Linked DNA regions of Homo sapiens: region 1 is linked to region 2. The links are contacts of gene promoters, found by promoter capture Hi-C in blood cells and fetal thymus (Javierre and others, 2016). All regions are on one chromosome and are shown on one strand. Each heading gives the region's core, a stretch centred on a gene start or on the middle of the fragment in contact. The rest is flanking DNA. Distances are from core to core; before and after follow the strand shown. Region 1 overlaps LOC644554 (a long non-coding RNA gene). Region 2 holds the start of LINC01801 (long intergenic non-protein coding RNA 1801).

Region 1 (6,852 bases), core at 2,562-5,061, 3.0 Mb after region 2:
AGATGCAAAATGAAAGTATTATAATAGAATAAAGTAATTCGGCCGGGCGTGGTGGCTCACACCTGTAATCCCAGGACTTTGGGAGGTGGAGGCGGGCGGATCACGAGGTCAAGAGATCGAGCCCATCCTGGCCAACATGGTGAAACCCCATCTCTACTAAAGATACAAAAATTAGCTGGGCGTGGTGGCGTGCGCCCAGTCCGAGTAGCTGGGACTACTCGGGAGGCTGAGGCAGGAGAATCGCTTGAACCCAGGAGGTGGAGTTTGCAGTGAGCCGAGGTCCCGCTACTGCACTCCAGCCTGGCGACAGATCGAGACTCCATCTCAAAAATAAAAATAAAACAAAATAATAATAATTCAGAAGCTGTCTGAGGGGACATGACTTATCTGACAGGCTTAGAAACAAAATAAGCCTTTTTGTCCAGAAGATCTGAAATAAAGCTGTGTGGTGACCGCCATCAGTTTATTCAAAAGATTACTCAGGGACTACTCCCCATTTTTTCAAGACAGAATTCTGTCATACCTGAGAAGAAATGATCAAGTAAGTTCAGATAATAGGATCCAAAGGAAACAAAAGATAAGACATTTAGTATAACAACGTAAATGTAGAGAACAAAGACATTGTCTCAAGTCCCTTTCTTTTGGGGGAACATCTTCCTGTTAACAACAACAACAACAACAAAAACTAAAAAAGCCCACATGTGTTTCAAGTTAACCTATTGTTATTATTGGAATAATTATGAACAAGGCTTTAAAAATTAAAATCAAGGTCAAACAAAAAGAAAAATAGTGTTAATAGGTGGCCATATAACCTTCCAAGTTTTTGTTTACTGATTTCAGTAATCGTCTGCTTCTCTGTATTGATAGTCATGTTTTATAATAATGATTATATTGGCCAACCTGATTTTTCTATTGACAGTATATCTGAAATATTTCCTGTGTCCTTAAGTATTTTTCACAGCTTCCCATTTTACATGTACGATGGTCTGCCATATCTAGTAAGCTTTGTCAGATCCAAAATACTAAATGCTGCCTTTCTGTCCCCAGTGTCTTTGCTCAGTTCAAAAGCCACAGAAGAAGTTCTGGACGATGTGGGCCTTCAATCTTCTAAGATGGGAATAGAAAGAAGAGGATCTACCCAGACCAGGACCCTGCTGCCCAATCTCAGGTCTACATCTGCCTCACCAAAATAATACAGTGGCCAGAAACCTCCCTGCTAACATCATAGTTTGTCTGTGATGCAGAAATGCCTCTGTTTTGTTGTTGTTTTGTTTTTGTAGAGACAGGGTCTTGCTCTGTCACCTAGGTTGGAGTGCACTGGCACAATCATAGTTCACTGCAGCCTTGAACTCCTGGACTCAAGCGATCCTACCGCCTCAGCCTCCCAAGTAGCTGGGATTATAGGCATGCGCCATCATGCCTAGCTGATTTTTATTTTGTAGAGACTGGGTCTCACTATGTTGCCCAGGCTGGCCTTGAACTCTTGACCTCAAGCGATCTTCCTGCCTCAGCCTCCCCAGTTGCTGGGATTACAGGCGTGAGCCATCGTGCCTGGCCCCAGAAATGCTTCGCTTCTATGACTTTGTTCAGTGGAGACCTCTGTGATTTGGGGGAGGAAATAGATTTATCCAGAACCCCAATTTGCCCGAATTATGTATGATGGGAAATAGTTTGAGACCTGGAATGGAAGAGCATCACAGCAATATTAAGTAACTTAAGGTCTGTCAGGAACACTAATGCAAAACTGGTCTCAAGGTCTTTCTTCTTCCTCCAGCTCTGGCTTTCTGGATCTGTGCTTCTCTGGTAGAGGAACCCTGAGGACTGATCTACTCTTGCAGTTCTAAAACCATGGCCCATGTAAGTTCACGTTTTTCTCCTTGTTGAAATATGTGTGTGTTGGCCAGGCACGGTGGCTCAGGCCTGTCATCCCAACACTTTGGGAGGCCAAGGCGGGTGGATCACCTGAGGTCAGGAGTTTGACACCAGCCTGGCCAACATGGTGAAACCCTGTCTCTACTAAAAATACAAAAACAGCCCAGCATGATGGCAGATGCCTGTAATCCCAGCTACTCAGGAGGCTGAGGCAGGAGAATCGTTTGAACCTGGGAGGCAGAGGTTGTAGTGAGCCAAGATTGTGCCACTACACTCCAGCCTGGACAAGAGCGAAACTTGGTCTCAAAAAAAAAAAAAAGAAATATGTGTGTGTTTTTAGGTCATGAAGGTATTTTTATTAATTTTCCTGAAATTTCCTACCAGGAGAGGCTCATCAAATAACATGCTTCCAGCTCTTATTCTTCCAGTTCCCAGCATCCACCCAATATGTCCCATTATAAACCTCCTTTGTTCATGTAATTACTGAGCAAATTATTCAGCATGTCTTAAGAGCCCTCTATCAAGGGCAGTGGTGGAGTTAAGTCCTTTTAAGTAAAGATTTGTGCTTTTTGGGTCAAGTCTAGTTTGGTAAGATAGAGTCAATGGTTGTATTTGACCATCCATAACAAAACTTAAATTATCACCGACTGGAGATTTCCAGGAAGTGAAGATGAAAATTTGGTATTGAATGATCAAACTCAGTCATTCATTGGGTGAAATCTCATGCTTTGTGTGGTTCAGTAAATGACTGGGGACTTGCAAACTTGGAGGTTATGGATTTTGGCAAGAAACCCCTCAGGAATAAATATCAGGACTATTCTGATGTTGGATGGAACCTACTAAATTTAGATGACATGTATATAATTCATTATTCTTCCTTAGTATTCTTTAACTCAATGCATTTGTTATCTATTATTACATAACAAATTAGACCAAAACTTAATGGCTTAAGACAGCAAACATTTATCTCACAGTTTCTTTGGATCAGAAATCCAGACATGGCTTAGCTTGCCTCTCTGGCTCTCGATCTCTTACAAGGAGATCCAGGTTTTGGTCAGGACTACAGTCATCTTAAGGCTTAACTTGGGGTGGATCTTTTTCTAAGCTCACTCAACTAGTTGTTAACAGGATCCAGTTTCTCACAGGCTTCAGACTGACAGTCTTAGTTCCTCATTCGCTGTTGCCTGGAAGCTGCTCTTGGTTTATTGTCATGTGGGTCTGTCCATAGAATAGCTTAAAACATGGTGGCTGTGTTTTAATCAGTGAGCAAATGAGACATCAAGAGAGGGAGAGAAATACAGAAAAAGTGCTGAAGTAACATTTCAGCACTGTAGCTATTCTGCTTATTAAGAGCAAGTCACTTGGTTCAGCCCACGTGCAAGGGAAGGAGATTACACAAGCATGTAATACTATCGGATGGGGATCTTTGGTAACCTATATAGCAAGCCAGGTGCTCAGTGAGAGATGGTAGAGAGCCACAAAAGAGAATGTCATTATAAGTAGCAAGTGAACACAGAATCCTAGAACTGGGGAAGACCTTAAAAATGTTGTGTATCCTAACTGCATTGTAAACAAGTAAGTCTGATATTGCCCTAAGATATAATTCTCATGTGCCCCCAAAATACATGGATTTGTCAAAACAAGAGAAAAATGCTTATGGTGAGATCTGATGTAATGAAGTATTTAATGCTTGAGAGAATTCTTAATTTTATGTAAACCCTATTTTCTAAAATCAAGGCCAGGTGCTGTAATCCCTGTAATTCCAGGTGTTCACACCTGTAATCTCACCACTTAGGAAGGCTGATATGGGAGCATTGCTTGAGACCAGGAGTTCAAGACCAGCCTGGCCAACACAGCAAGACCCTGTCTCTATTAAAAATAATAATAATCAAGACTTTATACTTCATTTGGGGAAAATATCTGATTAAATTTTTTGCTCCTCTTAAAAGCAAAAATTTTCCCCAGCAACTCATATGTATTTAAAAATTTATATGGCAGATACCAATCAGACATTATGCTTATATTCACTGTTTACTTTCATAGGCAAACATTATTATTTTATTTATTCCCAAATGGTGCAAGTATTTTAGAGTATGCCACATAGTTTTCTATATGCCAGCAGTCTTTTTCAAAAATACGTATACATTCCACTTCAGTCCCCCTCATACTGTAAATTTGTAGACAACATGCTTGTTACATTGCTCTCTTCCTGCAATACAGTCCTTATTTCCCCTCCATCCATCTTGAAAGTATTCCTTTAATTTCTCCAGTAACACTATGGGTTTGCCATTTCGGGCATCAATGACATTCAGGGATGTGGCCATAGACTTCTCGCAGCAGGAGTGGGAATGTCTCGACCATGTTCAGAAGACCTTGTATTGGGATGTGATGATGGAGAACTGTAGTAACTTGGTATGTTTTCTGCCTCAGACAATTTAGGATAACTTTGAATCTGCTCTCTAGGATGATTTTTCATTGTGATTTTTAGGGCTGTCTTTCAAGAGACTAGTTAAATTTCTTTTCCCTTTTCCCCAAAGAAGTGGTTTGGGCTTTGTTGGGTAGGAAGTGACAGCTTCACTAGACATACTCATCTTCCCTGTCCCTCAGTGATGTTCAAACTTTTCTCTGGTCATAGTTACAGTTGTCTTTCTTCTTTTATAAGGAAGGGCTAGATTAGGATTCAGCAGCCTATATTATATAACCATTGTAAAAGGATCCAGGTTTCCTATTTCTTTATGCTCCGAATTACTGTGGATACTCCATTATAGCATCTGATCCACTTGCAGATTACCTTGACATAGGATCCTGAATTGCTCTAATTATCAAAAGAACCTTTATAATGTATATAGCTTTGGATTAGATAAATTGAATTCATTTAAAACTGAAGCAAACACATTCTATTTCCTAAGCAAATTTTAACTTATTCGTGGTTGAAAGTTGTGGTTTAAAGTTGTCATCTATAAACATTACATTTTAAATGGAATGAATATCCTATAAATATCTTTTCTTGTATACTCTTAACAAAACAACAATATCAATAATAACCTTAGTAGTGAACACTGTGTCTATTAAAGGTAGTGTTCTAAGCATTTCACATATATGTCTCAACCAATTTAATCCTTATTAAATTCGACAATCTTATTATATCCTCATTTTCCAGTTGAGAATATTAAAGCCCAGTGGATTTAAATGACTTGCTGAAGGTCATGCACAGCTGGGAGGTGGTAAAGGCAGGAATTGATACCAGGCTCTAGAGTCTGTATTTTCAACCATGGTATTATGTGTACTCTCAGGAAAAAAAAAAAAAGATATGGGTGTGTAGGTTATATTTAAAATCCTTACCCAACCTAACTGATTTCTTGTTCTTTAATTTCCTCATCCTCTCAAAAACCTTATTCAGTTTCATTTTGATCCTTGATTTATTACAATTGTAATTTTGACAGCAAAGTATGTTTCTATATCAAGTGGCCTTTTTTTCTTTGTAAGCAGGACATGACTTTTCTAAGCCAGATGTAATTACATCATTGGAGCAAGGAAAAGAGCCCTGGATGATTGTAAGGGAAGAAAAAGGAAGATGGTGTACAGGTAAAAATAAGTCTGACTGTGGGAAGCCATCTGTGTAAATAACAACCTGTGTGGTCAGGGAAGAGACATACACTTGGGATGTTAGTTGGAAATCTCCATTCACAGCAGAGAAAAGGTGTGTGATTTATAAGGAAGATAAATACTCTGCATAAGCTACCCAGTGAGCTTCACCTTCACCTTAACATTCCTGGATGGGAACTTGCTATCCTTGAAGTGACAAAAGAACAAATGCCATCCCTCCAAGATCTGGTGTCTGGTCTACCTGCACGTCCAGGAGTCCCAGCCAAACCCCGGCTCTTCTTTTCACTTTTCTTGCTTTTACCTTCTTCTTGCTCATCAATTTTTACGATGTCTTCCTTAGGTTCTTCTGTAGTCACCTCTGAAATATCCTTCAAATCTTTTTTCTCTTTCCACAGCACATCTGCAATTCTGCCTTTTCTCATTGACTTTTTCCAAAGCCTTTTAATGTGTTCTTTTCTTTCCAGCTTAGAGATCACATCTCCATAATCTTTCATGCTACCTTGATCTATGGCTTCCATGGCGTCTGTGGCCTCCAGGGCTTCTGTGGCCTCCATGGCCTCTATAGCTTGTAAAATGACCTCCTGCTCTGTTTCAGCATAATCCTGGGATTTGACTGTGCTTAGAGAACTCAGTGGTAGCTCTGGCTCTAAGGTAACATGTTGGGTTTCAACTAGCTCTGATTTCCCGGCCTCTCTTTGTTCACCTGCATCTTCTGAAGGCATCAACATGGAACTAGACATTTCCAATTTTGTCTTTCTGTGCTTCCTGGCAACTCTCAGGTCCTTTTTAACTGCAGAGATATTGGGAGAAAAACAGTTAACAGAAACACAGAGGTCTTGAGTAAGATCCTTTGTAAAATCTAATTCATTGAGCTACCATAAGAGATACAAAGCAGGGGGACTAAGGCTTTATGATATGGAAATGCTCGGTTTCATCCCACCATCCATATTCTAACAAAATAAGAGCTTGGTATTTGCTGTGGGGTAGATCTTTCTCAGGAATGTCACTTTCTGTGAATAAGATTCTCCCACTGAACTCCATTCTCACTAGTATCCTTTCATATACCTTGGCCTTACCCACCCTGCCTTTTGGGGCCCTGAGGTTGGCCCCAAACATGCCCCATATATCACCCTATACATACTAAGCTTTCTGCTCCTTGCTTGAAAATGTCTCTTTCTTTTCTTTGGTTTGGTGATCTTTACAGGTTCTGACAAAGGTATGCACATGTCTTCAGAAAAGACCTTAAGTTCTTCAGACCATGGTATATCAAAAGAAAAAGTAAATGACTTTTCTCTTTGTAACAAGGTCAAGTTTTCATTTAGCTGCTGCTCCACATGAATAAGCAGGGACTGTATATCTTCAGCTTGAATATTC
Region 2 (6,772 bases), core at 4,168-6,667:
TTTGAATTATTTTGCAGTTATGTAGCTATCCTAATGAGTGAATGGTACTAGTTTACATATAAGGAGAACTACTTGAGCTAACCTTGATTTTAAAAAATTAGCATTAGCACCCCCATTATATTAATTTTCAGAGATAGTAAATACTCCAAAATGAAACAAACAAAAATAACAACAACAACAAACACCTTGCACATGAATGTTTGTAGCGGTTTTAATCATAATTGCCCCAAATTAGAAGCAACCAAAATGTCCTTCAAAAAGTGAATAGATAAACCAACTGTGGTATATCTATGCAATGGAATATTATTCAGCAATATGAAGAAATGAGCTGTTGAACCATGAAAAGAGATGGAAGAACATTAAATTCATGCTGCAAAGTGAAAGAAGCCTGTCTGAATAGGTTAAATACTGTATGATTCCAACTATACGACATTTGGAAAGGCAAAACTAGAGACAGTAAAAAGATCAGTGGTTGCTAGGAGTTTGGGGGAGGAAGGGATTACATGGAGCACAGGAGATTTTTGGGGTAGTGAAACTATTCTGTATGATGCTACAGTATGGGTACATGACATTATGCAATTGTCAAAAACCACAGAACTGTATGACAGGTAGAGTTAACCATAATGTGTACTATAGACTTTAGTTAATATATTAATATTGGATCATTAATTGTAACAAATGTACCACATGAATCCAAGTTGTTAGTAACAGGATAAACTGTGTACGTACGGGTGGAGAAGATACACGAGAACACACTGCACTTTCTCCTCAATTTTTCTGTGAAACTAATACTGTTCTAAAATAAAGTTTGTTAATTTAATAAAAAGTAAGATTACAGAAGTTGTAACTTGACTTTATTGGTATTTGTAAAACATATAACCCAACACCAGCTGAACACATGTTTCTTTTCAAGAGCACATGGAATGTTCATTAAGATTGGGCCAAAAAATAAATCTTAATAATTTTGAGATTAATATGTTTTCTCTGATCACAATAGAATTTTTGTAGATCTATCTACAAAATTGTAGATATCTACAATATGATATCTACAAAATCCTAAAATTTACAGATTAAATATTAAATAAATAAATACTATAATAAATATTAAATTTAAATAGTTAAATATTTAAAATACTCATATTCATATTTAGAATGAAAGCAAGACACACTTTTATATAATCAATATATTAAAAAATAACAAGGAAAAATATAAAATATTTTGGACTGAATAAGCAAAACACAGCAAATCAAAATTTGTGATAGACAGCTAAAGTGTGGCAGCTTTAAGCGTTTATGTTTAAAACAGAAACATTTTAAGAAACAATGATTTAGGTTTCTACCCTGAGTAGAAGAATCAAGGAATAAATTAAATATAAAATGAATGGAAAAGAAGAAATAATAAAAATAGACACGGAAATAGAAATGATAGAGACACATTAATTCTATTAATTTCTATTTATAGACATTTCTATATATAATATAGAAATTATAAAGTGTAATAAAATGGAGAAACCTCTATCAAGATTGAAGAAGAAATAACAAAGAGAAAACTCAAATTACCAATATTAGGAATAAAAAGGGAAGGGCATGAGTCAGATCTGAAAGACATTAAAAGGGTAATGGGGAATTATAAACATCCTCTAAGAAAAAATATGCAGTTCCAGACGGTTTTTCAGGTGAATTCTATCAAATGTGTAAGAACAATATTTTACCTGTGTTACACAAACTCTTTCAGAAAGTGGAGAAAGGGGCAACTTTTCGTAACTCATTCTATAAGGCCAGTATTACTCTAATATCAAAACCTAACAAGAAGAGAAAATTACAGATTAATATCGCTCATAACATAGACACAAAAGTCTTTGGCAACACTTTAGGAAAACCAAATATAAAAAGATGATCTTTTGTGACTAAGTAAGTTTTTCCCCAGGAAGGCAAAGATTCATTTAACACCTAAAAATCAATCAATGTAATTCATCATATTAAGAGAATAAAAGAGAAATGTCCTATGGTGATCTCAATAGCTGTGGGTCTCACACCACTTACCAAAAACATTCTAAGTAAAGCAGGAATTCGAGAGAATTCATTTCTGTGATAAAGCATATCTACAAAAAATCTTCAGTTAATACCATACTGAATACTCTTAACCTATGATTAGGAACTGGGAAAGAATATCCATTGTCTCTTCTTGTATTTGATAGTTTCCTGGATGTTGCAGCAAATGTAGAAGATAAGAAAAATTAATAAAAGGCATAGAGATTAAAAGAGAAGAAAGAAAAGTGCCTTTAAGCACAGAAAACGTTTGTCTATGTAGAACATCTGAAAGAGGGCTGGGCACAGTGGTTCACACTTGTAATCACAGCACTTTGGCAGGCCGAGGTGGGCAGATCACCTGAGGTCAGGAGTTCAAGACCAGCCTGGCCAATATGGTGAAACCTGGTCTCTACTAAAAAAACAAAAATTAGCTGGGCATGGTGGCACATGCCTATAATCCCAGCTACTCAGGAGGCTGAGGCAAGAGAATCGCTTGAACCCAGGAGGCAGAGGATGCAGGGAGCTGAGATTGCACCACTGTACTCCAGCCTAGGGGGGATACAGCAAGACTAAAAAAAAAAAAACACTAAAGAATCTACAAAGAAACTACAAAATGTAAATAGAAAATGAGCAAGGTTTCAATACAAAAGTAAATATATCAAAAGCAGTTGTTTTGTCCATATACTACTATATGCCAATATATGTATATAGTACGTGAGTACACACACACACACACACACACACACACACACACACACACACACACCCCATCATCATCATCATTTTCAGGGGCTAGGGAAGTTGATATTGGTCAATTATCAATCTCACCCAGGGCCCTGACAGCTGGCCTATGGAATTATTGCAAGTGATATTGGTGCCCTTGGGGCATAAAGCTTTTAAGCTAGCATGGATCTTGTATCTACCTGATGTACATCTTATGTCCTCGTTCCTGGGAGAAGACAGCTCACAGACAGCTGAGTTTTTGGCTGCACATCCTACTTAGAAGAGAAATGCCTGATTGTGCCATGCTGACAAGTGTTGGTCCTGGCAAATACAGAAGGAAATAAAGAGAAATAAAAAGCATGTAGATTACAACAGAAGGAAAACTAGCTTTATTCACAGAAACATGATTCCTAGAAACATTATTGTGTATGTAGAAAATCCTATGGAATCTGCAAAGAAACTACCTGAAATCAAAAGCGATTTCAGTGAGGTTCAATATACAAACTCAATATGTATGCATATATACATTTATGTACATACACAGTCATGCACCTCATAACAAGGTTTTGGTCAACAATGAACTGCATATACGACAGTGTTCCCATAAGATAATATGACATTGTTACTGTTTCTTTTCTGTGTTTAGATATATTTAGATACACAAAGACTTAACGTTGTGTTACAATTGCCTCAAATTCAGTATATGCCGTACAGGTTTGTAGCTACAGGCTATACCATATGGCCTAGGAGTATAGTCAATTATACCATCTAGGTTTGTGTAGGTACAGTCTATGATGTTTGCACAATGACGAAAATCACCTAATGATGCATTTCTCAGAAGGTATTCCCATTGTTAAAGCGACACTGGACTGTATTATATGTATTACCTATATTCTACCAATGAACTATCAAAAATTAAAATTTAAAAGATTCCATTTACAATAGCATTTACAAACCCCATAGAATACTTAGAAATAAATTAGCAAAAGCTGTGGAAGATCTATGCACAGACAACTGCAAAACAGTTGCAAATTTTCTCTTAAAAAGCCAGATAGTATGAGGTTGGTACAAAAGTAATTGCGGTTTGAAAGTAATGGCAAAAACCACAATTACTTTTGCACCAGCCTAATAAGTAGCATAGCCTTTGTGGGTCACGTTGTCTGTGACACAGACTCTTTGTGTTTCTGTGTATTCTGCTGCAACTCTTTAAAATTGTTAATAGGATCCTTCACTCACTGGCCTTACATGTAGGCTACAGGCTAAATTTGTTGGCCCATAGGCTGCAGTGCTGACCCTTGCTGCGAAATATTTCTAGGAGAAAATACTCAAGACCTAAATCTATGGAGATATATATCATCCCTGTGGCCTGGAAAAGTTAATATTGGCAAGTTGTCCATCTTGGCCAGGACCCTGAAAGATAGTCTATGTTATTGTAAGAAAGATTGGTGTCCTTGGGGGCATGGGCTTTTAAGCCAGGGTGGAATCTGCAGAAGTCTGAGGTGCCATTTCCTGTCCCTATACCTGGGAGAAAATAGCTCTCAGACAGCTGTGTGGCTTTCTGCAAAGCTCAATTAGAAGAGAAATTATCAGGCGTGGTGGCGCATGCCTGCAGTCTCAGCTACTTGGGAAGCTGAGGTGGGAGGATCTCTTGAGCCCAGGAGTTCGAGGTTGCAGTGAGCTGTGACTCCAGCCTGTGTGACAGAGTGATACGCTGTCTGGAGAAATTCATCATGGAGATATGCTGATAATTGGTGGTCCCTGCCTACATCCTCCCAGGAGACTGAGCCAGACCCGGTGTGGCCAATGGTCCACTTATAAATTGAACCATGTTAGACCTCCTAACAGTGCAAGTACTCATTACAGCTCTGACATGGTGCTAAGCACCCCAAGTATTATAAACAAGTGTAATCCATTATGCACACACGGTGAGGCTACACCAAAGTCTGGTGGTTAAATGCATGATCTGTGGAATCAGACAGCATGGGTTCAAACCCTGGCTGGGGTGAGATGGGGAACTTTCTAAGGCTTAAATGCTGTTTTACCAAATATTTTAAAAGAAGTGAAAATACACTGCCTGTTAGAAAGGGAAGTTTTGGGGTGAAGCATGTGGGCAGTTTAGAATACCTGGTGTCCACCTCAGAAACCATCACAGCCCAGATGTTATAGGTTCAGGCCTTTCCAGGGCGGGCACATAGAATGTCCTCGCCTCCAAGGTTTGGAGAGCTGCGCTATAAAGGTTCTTGCAGGCGGTGTCCTGAGCCCAGAGCTGCCTGCAGGCGGGCAGGAGTTGTGGGGGTGTTGGCATGATCTGGTGTCCTCTGTGGCGGCTGCCTGAAAAGAAGAGGCCGAGGGTTCTTTGTCCTATGTCTCTCCGAATCTTAATACCTGCCCTGCAGCAGACTCCCTGGCTGCCAGGGCACACCGGTCACCCCGGTAGACGGTGCCGCCCCGCCCTCGCCAACCCCTTATCCCAACTCCCATTTCCAGCCTTCCAGGAAGCCCGATCCCCACCCCCGCACCATGTGAGCTGCTCCTCTACTCCGCGTAGGGGAGGCTCTGCCTCCGGTGACCCCGAGGGAAAGAGCTAGAGCACCCACAGGTGCTGACTGCTGCGGCGCTGAGGACGCTGCACACCCGTTCACCGGCTGACCCAGTGCTGCTGACAACCAGCGTCCGCGGCCCCCAACCGTCGAACAGAGCGCGTGGGACCATCTGGTGCCAAACGCCTGCAACGGAGTGCAGAAGGTCACGAGGCGCTAGAGACCGGTTGGGGGCAGGCGGTTGGGCCTTGACGCTCTTTGCTGGGCGTCGTTTTTTCTTCTCGCCCCCTTCGCTCCTGTGCGCTTAGTGCACAAGCCCTGGGCTCACACACCCTTTCTCTGTCACGTGTTCCAACAGCATCTCACCTGCATCGGGCTGAACAGGAGACCTCAATTTTCTCCTCTACTCCAAGGATTCGCCGGCTCACAATTGCTCTTCATATCTTCAGCAAGCTTTGTCTGTGCCCTGCCCCTCTGTCCCCCATTGCCTACCATACCCGCTCCCACCAAGCCTGCATCACCTCGCTGTCTCTGTGCCTCTCCCCGGCCCCCTTCCAGGCCTTTCTCCCACAATTTCTGGTCTTTGCTCCTGGGTGTTCCGTCGACCCTAAGAGGCGGTGTCTGATCTGGCAGGCTCAATGCCTTTCTCTGGCGCTGTCTGCACCTCCAATATATTCAGTGACTCAGGAAGGATCCATCCTGCAGGGCCCAGATAGACTCTCCTGTTTGCCACCTGAGCAGAAAGGCACCTCTGTGAGGTCTTTGCCACCCAGTCACCCTACCAGACCCAATCAGCACGTGGGAGACGTGGATGACAGGAGGACAGAGATGGAGAGGGACCAAAAGACTACATGGGGCCTTGAAGGATGTCATAAGAACGTTGCCTTTTACTGAGAGATGGGAACCATGGAGGGTTTCAAACTGCTGAGACTGGCATGATATGACTTAGGGCTTTTTTGTTTGTTTGTTTGTTTGTTTTTTCTTTTTTGTGACGGAGTCTCAGAGTCTTCCTCTGTCATCCAGGCTGGAGTGCAGTGGTGTGATCTTGGTTCACTAGAACCTCTGTCTCCCGGGTTCAAGACATTCTCCTGCCTCAGCCTCCCGAGTAGCTGGGATTACAGGCACCCACCACCACGCCCGGCTAATTTTTGTCTTTTTAGATGTTTTATCTCAGAGAAAGAGCTTCCATGTTCTCTAACTCTTGTAAACAGGTATTCTTCAAGAAACTTTACAATATAACATTCATACACAGAAGTGTACAAATCATCTGTCTATTCCTCAATACATTTTTGCAGAATGAACAAACCTATGTAATCTAGATCAAGAAGCAAAACACAGGCACCTCAGAATCAACCTCATGCTCATTCCTAGTCACTATGCCCCTCCCAAATTTTTAACATTATAGATTAGTTTTGCCTATTTAAAAACTTTATATAAATGGAACCCTACCATGTGTCCTGTTTGTGGCTGTGTCTTTT

What was found. Contacts are between HindIII fragments. The CHiCAGO score rates a contact against its expected background, and 5 or more counts as called.
Region 1: a contact is called between a fragment that was not itself captured here and the fragment with the promoter of LINC01801 in region 2, in 1 of 17 cell types (M0 macrophages). The highest score is 6.1, in M0 macrophages.

The regions. Positions count from the first base shown.
Region 1 is chr19:37,818,450-37,825,301 of GRCh38, forward strand. LOC644554 (a long non-coding RNA gene) reads left to right here. Exons shown (of 5, transcript NR_040013.1): 2 at 1,048-1,168; 3 at 1,775-1,857; 4 at 5,362-5,457. It also overlaps the pseudogene WDR87BP. Among named protein-coding and RNA genes, the nearest start is that of ZNF573, 42 kb to the left of the region's middle. The HindIII fragment of the contact is 5,620 bases long and covers 1,002-6,621 here.
Region 2 is chr19:34,827,452-34,834,223 of GRCh38, forward strand. It overlaps LINC01801 (long intergenic non-protein coding RNA 1801), which reads right to left and starts at 5,418. Exons shown (of 6, transcript NR_033982.1): 1 at 5,274-5,418; 2 at 4,879-5,085; 3 at 2,955-3,075; 4 at 1,713-1,802. The HindIII fragment of the contact is 2,823 bases long and covers 2,923-5,745 here.